2 separate regions of the Homo sapiens genome follow, and region 1 is linked to region 2. The links are contacts of gene promoters, found by promoter capture Hi-C in blood cells and fetal thymus (Javierre and others, 2016). All regions are on one chromosome and are shown on one strand. The core of a region is centred on a gene start or on the middle of the fragment in contact, and the rest is flanking DNA. Distances in the headings are between cores, read along the strand shown. Region 1 overlaps RALGPS2 (Ral GEF with PH domain and SH3 binding motif 2). Region 2 holds the start of ANGPTL1 (angiopoietin like 1).

Region 1 (4,870 bases), core at 2,270-4,769, 92 kb after region 2:
TCAGTCTTTCACTGAGTGTGTCCCCAGGCTATGACCTTCACAAATGCTTCTCTGTCCCCCTGGCTCTGCTTAGGTGAGACAGGAAGTCTAGAGGGGCTTCAAGTTGAGGATTTTTCCTCTCCCAAGTAGGTTAGGCTCTGGTGAAGTAGTTTCCCTTGAGGGCAGGTGGAGAACAGAATGCTCTGGGCATATTTCAATATGGTTACTTTCTATCTGGGTGTATTTCAAAATGGCTGCTTCTTTCCTCCTCCTGCTAGAAGCAGAAGTGAATTTTTCTCTGTCTTTACTGTGAAAAACTGGTGGGCATCCTAGAGGTAATAAAAATCACAAAAGCAGAGGGTGAGAAGAATCTAAGACTGGACACCCAAGGAGTTTTTAACTTTCAAGCTAGTCCACACACTGTCTCCAGCAGTTCATCAATTAGGGTTTACGTGGCTCCACTGACTTCTGCTCCCGTAAGCTGTGATTCTCTATTTGCCTCTCTCTCCAGGTTTCAGGGCATCACTGTTAAATGTGCTCTGTTATAGCAATTCTCTGATAAAGCTAAGAGGAGTTATTGATTTTCAGTTTGTTTAGCTTTTTTCCTATTGTGAGGACAGGAGTGATGAATTCTAAGCTCTTTACAAATCTGAGCAGAAACCTGAATTCCAGTGAATGAATCCAAGCAGAAACCTCAAGTCTCATAAACAAAATGGAGTTTTATTTCTTGTGTTTAATCTCTGTAACTATGACTAGTTTATAGTATGTCAACAATATTATTTTACATCCCAAAACTAATAAAACATTTTTTTCATAATGTTAAGTATTCAAATAGACATCAGTTAAACAGTATACACTAATCCAATAGCTGTCCAAATAACCAGATGCATTCTGTCAGGTGAACACATGAATCATAAACATAAATCAGTAATTTTCTCCAAGTTTTTAACTCATCCAAGTTAGTAAACCATCATGACAATTTTATTGCTTATCAAAAAGAATAAACACTTCTCTTTTTTCCTTCTTAATGGCCATTAGAGGCTTAAAAATTACTAGTGTGCATTTTGACATGCTTCCCTAATACCAGTAATAAATTGGTAATGATAAGACACTAAGCAATAATGTTCACCAGGAGAATAGCAATAATTCATTCAAGGCATGACTCAAAAACTTCTAAATGTCTTCTAAATGTCTGAAAACAAGTTCACTGTAATTCTCCTACTGACGGAAACTTCAAACACGAGTTAAATATAAAAGGATAAAGTATTTTATCCATTCTGTAAGCTTATCACTTCTATAAGAAATTTGTACTTTGATGTTACTAGACCTATAATTTGAGAGAAGGTGGAAAATACAGATTTTTAATTTTATTTTCTTGCCACAATAAATGGACAATTTAAAGGGCAGACTTTTTTCACTCTTACTTTATAACTGCTAATTATACTACTCTGAAGCCTGATGTAATTAATTCACTTTTGGTAAAGTCAACAGAATTGTTTGTACAAGTGAAATGATCTATTTTATTTAACAAATATTTGTATTCTGCTTCCTATGATACTAGAACAGGTATTTCTGGATATATAGTTAAAAATATACACATACATATATATATATATAACATATTCAAGAAATATGGTTATAAATATACAAAGAAAACAAACATATATTACAAACATATATATAAACATAATCTTATGGTTGTAAATATAAAAAAGCTATGCATACATTTACGGAGAAAATTACAGAAAGAGATTTTTCTAAGTGACAGTTTTAAAAATAGGAAAGCTCCCATCTGTTTAAGGGATTAGGAGAGGCTTTATTAAAAGCATAGCATTTGAAATATGTTTGAAAGACAAAACTTTTTGTGTGTGCAGTGATGGGGAGGGGACACACCAGAATGGGAAGAAAAATTCCAGCTAGAAACATTGGTATAGGCAAAGTTATGACAGAAGAAGGAAAATGTAATAGTTTATACAGACAACAGCAAATGTAGTATTCTCTCATTAGACTGTTAAGTTTCAAGTAGAGGATTAGTAGGGGTTAAATCCAAAAATTTGGGGCCATTTTGAAGAAAGTCTTGAATAAAAGGCTCAGTGGGCATTTAAATTTAATTAGTAGGCAATGAGGAACCACAGACAGTTTTGAGAAAAGATAAAGTTTAAGAGCTGTATTTTAAGAATATTAAACTTAAATTTCAGTTGAAGGATCAGAAACAACAGAAAATATAAGTGCAACACCCAACTAAAAGGTCATGGCACTAATCTAGACAAGAAATAATAAACGACCAAACTAACATGGTAGTACAGTAATAGAAATAAGGAGAAAAGTACTGGATCCCAGAGATAAAGCACAGTGGACAGGCTCTAAGATAGCTGCTAAAGATCTCTATCTCTTGGTATTCTCAACCCTGTGTGATCCTCTCCCCTTGAGTGTGGGCAGAACCTGTGACTTGTTTCTAACCAGCAGAATATGGAAAAGGAGATGAGATGTCACTTCCATGATTACGTTATATAAGATTGTAACTTCTGTCTTGCTAGCAGATTCTCTCTGCTATGATGAGACAATGGTTGTGGTGGGCAAAAATTAACAACACATTGGCCGGATGCAGTGGCTCACATCTATAATCCCAGCAGTTTGGGAGGCCAAGGCAGGTGGATCACCTGATGTCAGGAATTCAAGACCAGCCTGGCCAACAAGGTGAAACCCCATCTCTACTAAAAATACAAAAATTAGCCAGGCGTGGTGGCAAGCACCTGTAATCCCAGCTACTGGGGAGGCTGAGGCAGGAGAATTGCTTGAACCTGGGAGGCAGAGGTTGCAATGGGCCCAGATCGTGCCACTGCACTCCAGCCTGGGCAACAAGAACAAAACTCTGTCTCAAACCCCACCACAAATAAACAACACATCTAAAGATTTAAACTTAGATGGCTATGGAAATGTGATGCTATTAACCTAAGTTAGAGAAAAGGCTTGGACTATTTTCTTTATGGTTGTGGAGCAGAACAGTAATAAGAAACTTGATTTTGTGGACATTAAAATGTCTGGTCCATCAAAAATGCTTAATAAAATTCATGAGGGAAGCCAGGGCTAGAGATAAAAATAAATCATCTACATAACAAAAACAATTGAAACCATAGACTTAGACTATTTTCAGTGATATCAAGGCCTAAGTAACTAGCTGGGGCAAAATGGAGTTGGGGCTATTAAGGAACTTTGAGGTCAAGGTGTTAAAGGGTCATAAACATTATTCTCATCCAATATACTAAGAGAAAAATAAGAAATATAGAAGCCAGATGCTAAAGTTATTAAGGAAAGCAGGCAAGTTCCCTAGATTTATACACAAAGAAAAAAATAAAAAAGTTGGGGCAAAAATACAATCATAATATATTAACTAGAGGGGTGAGCATCTAGTTCAGTCTTCACATCTCCATCTTAAATGCTAAACTACATCAGCAGAGTAAGCCCTTACAACATTCCAGCCTAACGGTTCTTTTGTTTCCTCTAATATATGTGGAATCAAGGGATCTAGATGGGTCCAAAATTTAGTGATTCCAAGTAAAAGAATCTTTCTTTGCCTTACTTGCATTATTGCCCTCAAGGATGATGTAATGTAAAAATACTCTAAAAAGAAATTCTATGTTTCTTTTAAAAATAAAGAGTTTTATGAGTTACCATTATTTGTCATTATTTTTCAAGTATCTTAAGTAGATAAGGATTAAGTATACCTATGATGCACAGGGAACATACGAATCACTAAAATAAAAGTTAAAATATGTGTATTTCTCATTGTTCAATTCCCACCTATGAGTGAGAATATGCGGTGTTTGGTTTTTTGTTCTTGCGATAGTTTACTGAGAATGATGATTTCCAATTTCATCCATGTCCCTACAAAGGACATGAACTCATCATTTTTTATGGCTGCATAGTATTCCATGGTGTATATGTGCCACATTTTCTTAATCCAGTCTATCATTGTTGGACATTTGGGTTGGTTCCAAGTCTTTGCTATTGTGAATAATGCCGCAATAAACATACGTGTGCATGTGTCTTTATAGCAGCATGATTTATAGTCCTTTGGGTATATACCCAGTAATGGGATGGCTGGGTCAAATGGTATTTCTAGTTCTAGATCCCTGAGGAATCGCCACACTGACTTCCACAATGGTTGAACTAGTTTACAGTCCCACCAACAGTGTAAAAGTGTTCCTATTTCTCCACATCCTCTCCAGCACCTGTTGTTTCCTGACTTTTTAATGATTGCCATTCTAACTGGTGTGAGATGGTATCTCATTGTGGTTTTGATTTGCATTTCTCTGATGCCCAGTGATGATGAGCATTTTTTCATGTGTTTTTTGGCTGCATAAATGTCTTCTTTTGAGAAGTGTCTGTTCATGTCCTTCGCCCACTTTTTGATGGGGTTGTTTGTTTTTTTCTTGTAAATTTGTTTGAGTTCATTGTAGATTCTGGATATTAGCACTTTGTCAGATGAGTAGGTTGTGAAAATTTTCTCCCATTTTGTAGGTTGCCTGTTCACTCTGATGGTAGTTTCTTTTGCTGTGCAGAAGCTCTTTAGTTTAATTAGATCCCATTTGTCAATTTTGTCTTTTGTTGCCATTGTTTTTGGTGTTTTAGACATGAAGTCCTTGCCCATGCCTATGTCCTGAATGGTAATGCCTAGGTTTTCTTCTAGGGTTTTTATGGTTTTAGGTCTAACGTTTAAGTCTTTAATCCATCTTGAATTGATTTTTGTATAAGGTGTAAGGAAGGGATCCAGTTTCAGCTTTCTACATATGGCTAGCCAGTTTTCCCAGCACCATTTATTAAATAGGGAATCCTTTCCCCGTTGCTTGTTTTTCTCAGGTTTGTCAAAGATCAGATAGTTGTAGATATG
Region 2 (4,898 bases), core at 2,305-4,804:
AAAAAAGTAGCACAGAAAAGTTTAAACAGGAGTTTCATAAGAATTCTGTGCAAAAAAATGTCATTCCTTGCTGATGGGATCAGAGAAAGCTTCAAGGAAGAAGTGGGATTTGAGCGGGGTACTAATGTGCCAGTTCTTGCCATTCTTCCATCTTATTAAACTCAGATGACAACTCGCCTGTAGTCACTCGCTATACTGTGCTGTCCAATATAACCACTTGCCACATGTGACTACTGTTTCGTGGGTCTATTCTGAATTGAGGTGTATTTGAATATAAAATAGACAAGATTTTGAAGAGTTAACATGAAAAATTAATGTAAAATATCTATTAACTTTTTTATTGGTTACATGTTAATATTTTAATATGTTGGGGTAAACTACTTTAAAAAAGAACTACGACATCATCAATACTGTTGCATCTATCTGTATGTTCCTTCTCTACTTCATCTCCTTGCTTCCTGTCCAGAAGTAACCATTACCTTGAACTTTAAGATCATTCCCTTATTTTTTCCCCGACATTTGTCTGTATTCCTACTTTTGCCTATTTTTGAGCTTTAAAAATCATATTTTATTGTATGTGTGGATTAAATAATAGTATTTGTAATGTTAGAAAAGTGTCTAGTATGGGAGGCTGAGGCAGGAGAATGGCGAGAACCCAGGAGGCGGAGCTTGTAGTGAGCCGAGATCGTACCACTGCACTCCCGCTTGGGTGACAGAGCAAGACTCCGTCTCAAAAAAAAAGTGTCTAGTACATACCAAGTGATTTATAAGCATTTATTAAATAAAATTTAAAAATATGGTCTTCTGTGGTTGCTTCGTCTATTTTGTTTCTAAGACTTGTCCACGCTGTTAAATGCTGCTGTAATTCCTTATAATGAGAACAAGCTAATGTGTGACAATTGTAACTCATCCATTTTATTTGATAGACTTTTGAGTTACTCCCATCCCACCCCCAACCATGTTGCTATAGACATTCTTATACACATCTCCCAGTACACATGTACAAAATTTCTTCAGGATATACAAACATGCCTAGGAGCAAAACTGCCAAGTGCTAAAGTATATTAATATTCAACTTTACAAGATGGTGTCACATTATTTTTCAAAGCTGTATCAATTCATACTCCCACTCACGGTATATAAGCTTCTGTTGATCCACATTTGTGCTAACAATTGGTATTATCCATCTCAATTTTGCCAATCTTCTGAGTATAAAATGGTATCTCTCTGTGTCTTAATTTTTATTTCCTTGATTAGTAATAAGGTTAAACGTATATATTTCTATGTAATAAATGTTTCTGTTCATTTTTTCTTTTGGGTTGTCTTTTTCTTATGGATTTCTAATTTCTTAATGTATTGTGGACACTAATTTGTCAGTTAAATTTTATCTAGTCACCCTTCAACACACTAAATAATCTGAAATCTGTATGTATCACTTATTTTGGCAATGGCATTAATAACTTTCTCATTCTAAGTCTTAAAACATCTCTCTTGGTCTCCCCTCCCTATGTAATGTCTCTGCAGTATTGTAACCATTCTCGTCTAGTTCTCAGGTTTTCCCTACCTTGAACTTTCGTATCTTCCCCCTAAGCCCCCACCATTCTTCTTTTTCCTCATGTTTCTTGTAAGCTGGTTTCCTGGAAATTGGTATCATGGTCTGTCATTAACCTTCCTTTACATTCTACATGTACTTTCTCTAGTATCTTAGTTCCATAGCTTTAGCTACTACCTAATTGCTGGTGACTTTCAAATCTCTCCATATAACTGAGCTCCTGACTTTCATTTTCAATTTAACATATCTAACCATAATCTGTCCCTAAATACCTGTCATTCCAATTTCCTACCCTGGCTAGTGATATTACTAAGTGCTCAAGTTAGAAAGCTCCAAACTGCTGAAAGTTTAAAAGCTCAGAAAGAATTTATTATCTCTTATTTTTCCCAGATTTAAGCCATTAGTGACTACAACATAATTACTGAATGCTCAAGAAACGATACATAATACAAATCAGAGGCCAGAAGCTGGCAGCACATCTGTCCCAATGTTTTTTAAAATCAGGAAGTATTACAGGAAAAATCTAAATGGCTCTTTTTTCCTGAATAATGGGAAGATCTGGCAACACTGTCTCATAATCCTTCATGGCCACAAGCACAGCTGAGAAGGTGCAGGCAGATCCCTTTAAATTAACCAAAAGGATGCCAACTTGCCATAAACTTCATTTCCCTCCAGTATCTTACTACTGATTTACTTCACTGATTTATATTACCTGCTCCATTCTTCTTGTGAGCATTTGCCTTTCTAGGCCCTTGTGTTTGCAACCTCTGGTATACCTATATATGGCATAGGAATTCAAATAAATGATTCTGTGAAAGAGGTAGAAAATAAGCTCAGACTTTAAATAAAGGATGTGGATCAACAGTGTGGCCTAACAGAAAGAGAAACACAGCACAAGCTACAGCAATAAGGAAGGGAAAGCACAGGTATGTAGAGAAAGCCCAAAAGTTTTATCTAGAAGCAGCTTACAGCAACTAGGTAATCAATGACAGAGAGTGTGGCATAATGCTTTGGCATTAGATTCAAATCCCAGTTCCACTACTTAGTACTTAAGTGCTAAGCTAAGTTACTTAAGCCTAAGTTTGTGTTTCTTCAGCTACTGAGTTATTTAACATTTCTTCAATTAATGAAATACAATAGTATAGTTGTACTCAACACTTATTCATTTCTTCCACCACCTTATTTCATAGCAGAAGAACCTTGCCAGAGGCAGGTAAAGTGATTTGTCTAAGTTCACATAGCTGGCATAGAGTCAGAGCTTCCTTGTTTTTTACTCAGTTCAGGGTTATGTTTGTTTTTAAACCACACCACATCAATTAATAACAAGAATGACCTTTTACAGAGAGGAGAGGTCATTTTGTAGAATAGGAGGATATGACATTATGTAACACCAGAATGTAATATTTAAAAGTCTTAAGCATCTGAAAGAATTTCACTTATGTTTGGTAATTATATATAAAGGCTGTTTTATCTTAAGACACATTACACAGTAAGACATAACATACTACAACAACATCAAGTTTCTTGTAAGTTTAAAACCTTCATTAGCAACTTAGTAAAATGTTTACAAATTCTTCTAGGCTATAAAGAGTATTTATTACATTATTTAGGTGGCTGCCTCCTGACAAAGTCTAGCTCTTGTTCTTTGTTAACAAAAACCAAACTCATCAGCCTGCAACTACTTCTAAGTGAAGTGGAGCACTATTTTTTTTTTCGGTATTCAACTTAAAAGATCTCTGGCCAGCAGACTAAAATGTTTGTTTTATAATTGCCCGCTGAACTATGATAGTTTGTTTCCAGATGGTGCCCTTCCTTCAACCTGCACACAATCTCTCCTTGTTCAAAACTATTCAACCTCCTGCTGATCCCACCCCCCTATTTAAGGCTACAAAGAGGAAATCCTAAGGAGATTCCCGCCCCCAGTCTCCAGCAATTTTTGGTGATGTAATATGTGGGCTGAACTTGAGTCTACTGAGAAAGAGGGAATCACTATTCAGGGGTACTGTATATACAATCTGGGTCAGCTGCAGCTGGTTACTGCATTTCTCCATGTGGCAGACAGAGCAAAGCCACAACGCTTTCTCTGCTGGATTAAAGACGGCCCACAGACCAGAACTTCCACTATACTACTTAAAATTACATAGGTGGCTTGTCAAATTCAATTGATTAGTATTGTAAAAGGAAAAAGAAGTTCCTTCTTACAGCTTGGATTCAACGGTCCAAAACAAAAATGCAGCTGCCATTAAAGTCACAGATGAACAAACTTCTACACTGATTTTTAAAATCAAGAATAAGGGCAGCAAGTTTCTGGATTCACTGAATCAACAGACACAAAAAGGTATTTAATATTTCTTTTATTTAAAAATATTATGTATAGCAAATGCATAACTATTTTATATTTGTAGTAGAAATTTCAGAATCTTTTACTAAACAAAGACCTTTGGAATATACTACAGTTTATCTCATCTGAAAAAGGTTTTATCTTGCAACTTGACATAAAAACATTAAGTACTGTGCAATGGTTAATGCATTATTTGAGGTTCAATTTAATGATGTTTAGTGTATATGATTACAGACTGATACATGCATGCCATGCTGGGTTTCTGAAAACAAGTGCTTTAGTGACAGTAGAAAGAAATTTTAACAAGTAACAGATTAAATGTATAAGGCTTACAGCACAATGATTAAAAACAAAGGAATACAAACTAAATAGTCGTGAACACAATTAGTTTCTCTTCCTGCAGCCACAGTGTGTGTGCTGAAGATATACATAAACTGTTGGATTTCTCAGTGTAGTCATAAAACAAAGCTAAGATACAAAAATAGTTGAAAGTCTTTGCAACAAAATCTCAATTACAGTATAACCAAATATTAAGCAGAAATTCTTGTACAGATTTAAGATTAATCTATGGCATTTCTTGTTCCAACTCAAAATTTTAAATAGCTTTCCAGGCTTACATGTAATAGTAATTTAATTTGGATGACAGAAATTAAACTTGCTACAAATGGAATCACTTGGAAAAGCTAAGTTATTGATATACACACAAAAGCATTATGTAAGTGGTATTAACAATAGAAAATAAGAACCCAGAAGATGTAATTAAATTCATGACTAAAAGGCCAAAAATATGTAATATTTTAGGTAGAAATAATTTTGTTAAGCACACATAAGAGGTTTCCTTCAATATTCTATCTGGGAGCTTTTTTTACATGCATTATAAAAACTATTAAAGATAAAATTACTCGTTACCAATAGTATGCCTTAAACCAAAGACACTTAAGTTTGTTAGATTTGGGGCTCCTTTAGCCTTGTAAAAATTAAAGATATTAATGGTTAAGAATCTTG

What was found. The method cuts DNA at HindIII sites, captures the fragments that hold promoters and counts their contacts. A CHiCAGO score of 5 or more calls a contact.
Region 1: a fragment that was not itself captured here is called in contact with the fragment with the promoter of ANGPTL1 in region 2 in 1 of 17 cell types (total B cells); the score reaches 5.8 in total B cells.

Annotation. Positions count from the first base shown.
Region 1 is chr1:178,777,739-178,782,608 of GRCh38, reverse strand. The region is part of intron 2 of RALGPS2 (Ral GEF with PH domain and SH3 binding motif 2); the gene reads right to left. Among named protein-coding and RNA genes, the nearest start is that of RALGPS2-AS1, 54 kb to the right of the region's middle. The HindIII fragment of the contact is 4,507 bases long and covers 1,266-4,870 here.
Region 2 is chr1:178,869,733-178,874,630 of GRCh38, reverse strand. It overlaps ANGPTL1 (angiopoietin like 1), which reads left to right and starts at 3,554. Exons shown (of 6, transcript NM_004673.4): 1 at 3,554-3,890. All of the region lies in intron 8 of RALGPS2 (Ral GEF with PH domain and SH3 binding motif 2), which reads right to left. The HindIII fragment of the contact is 10,209 bases long and covers 1,147-4,898 here.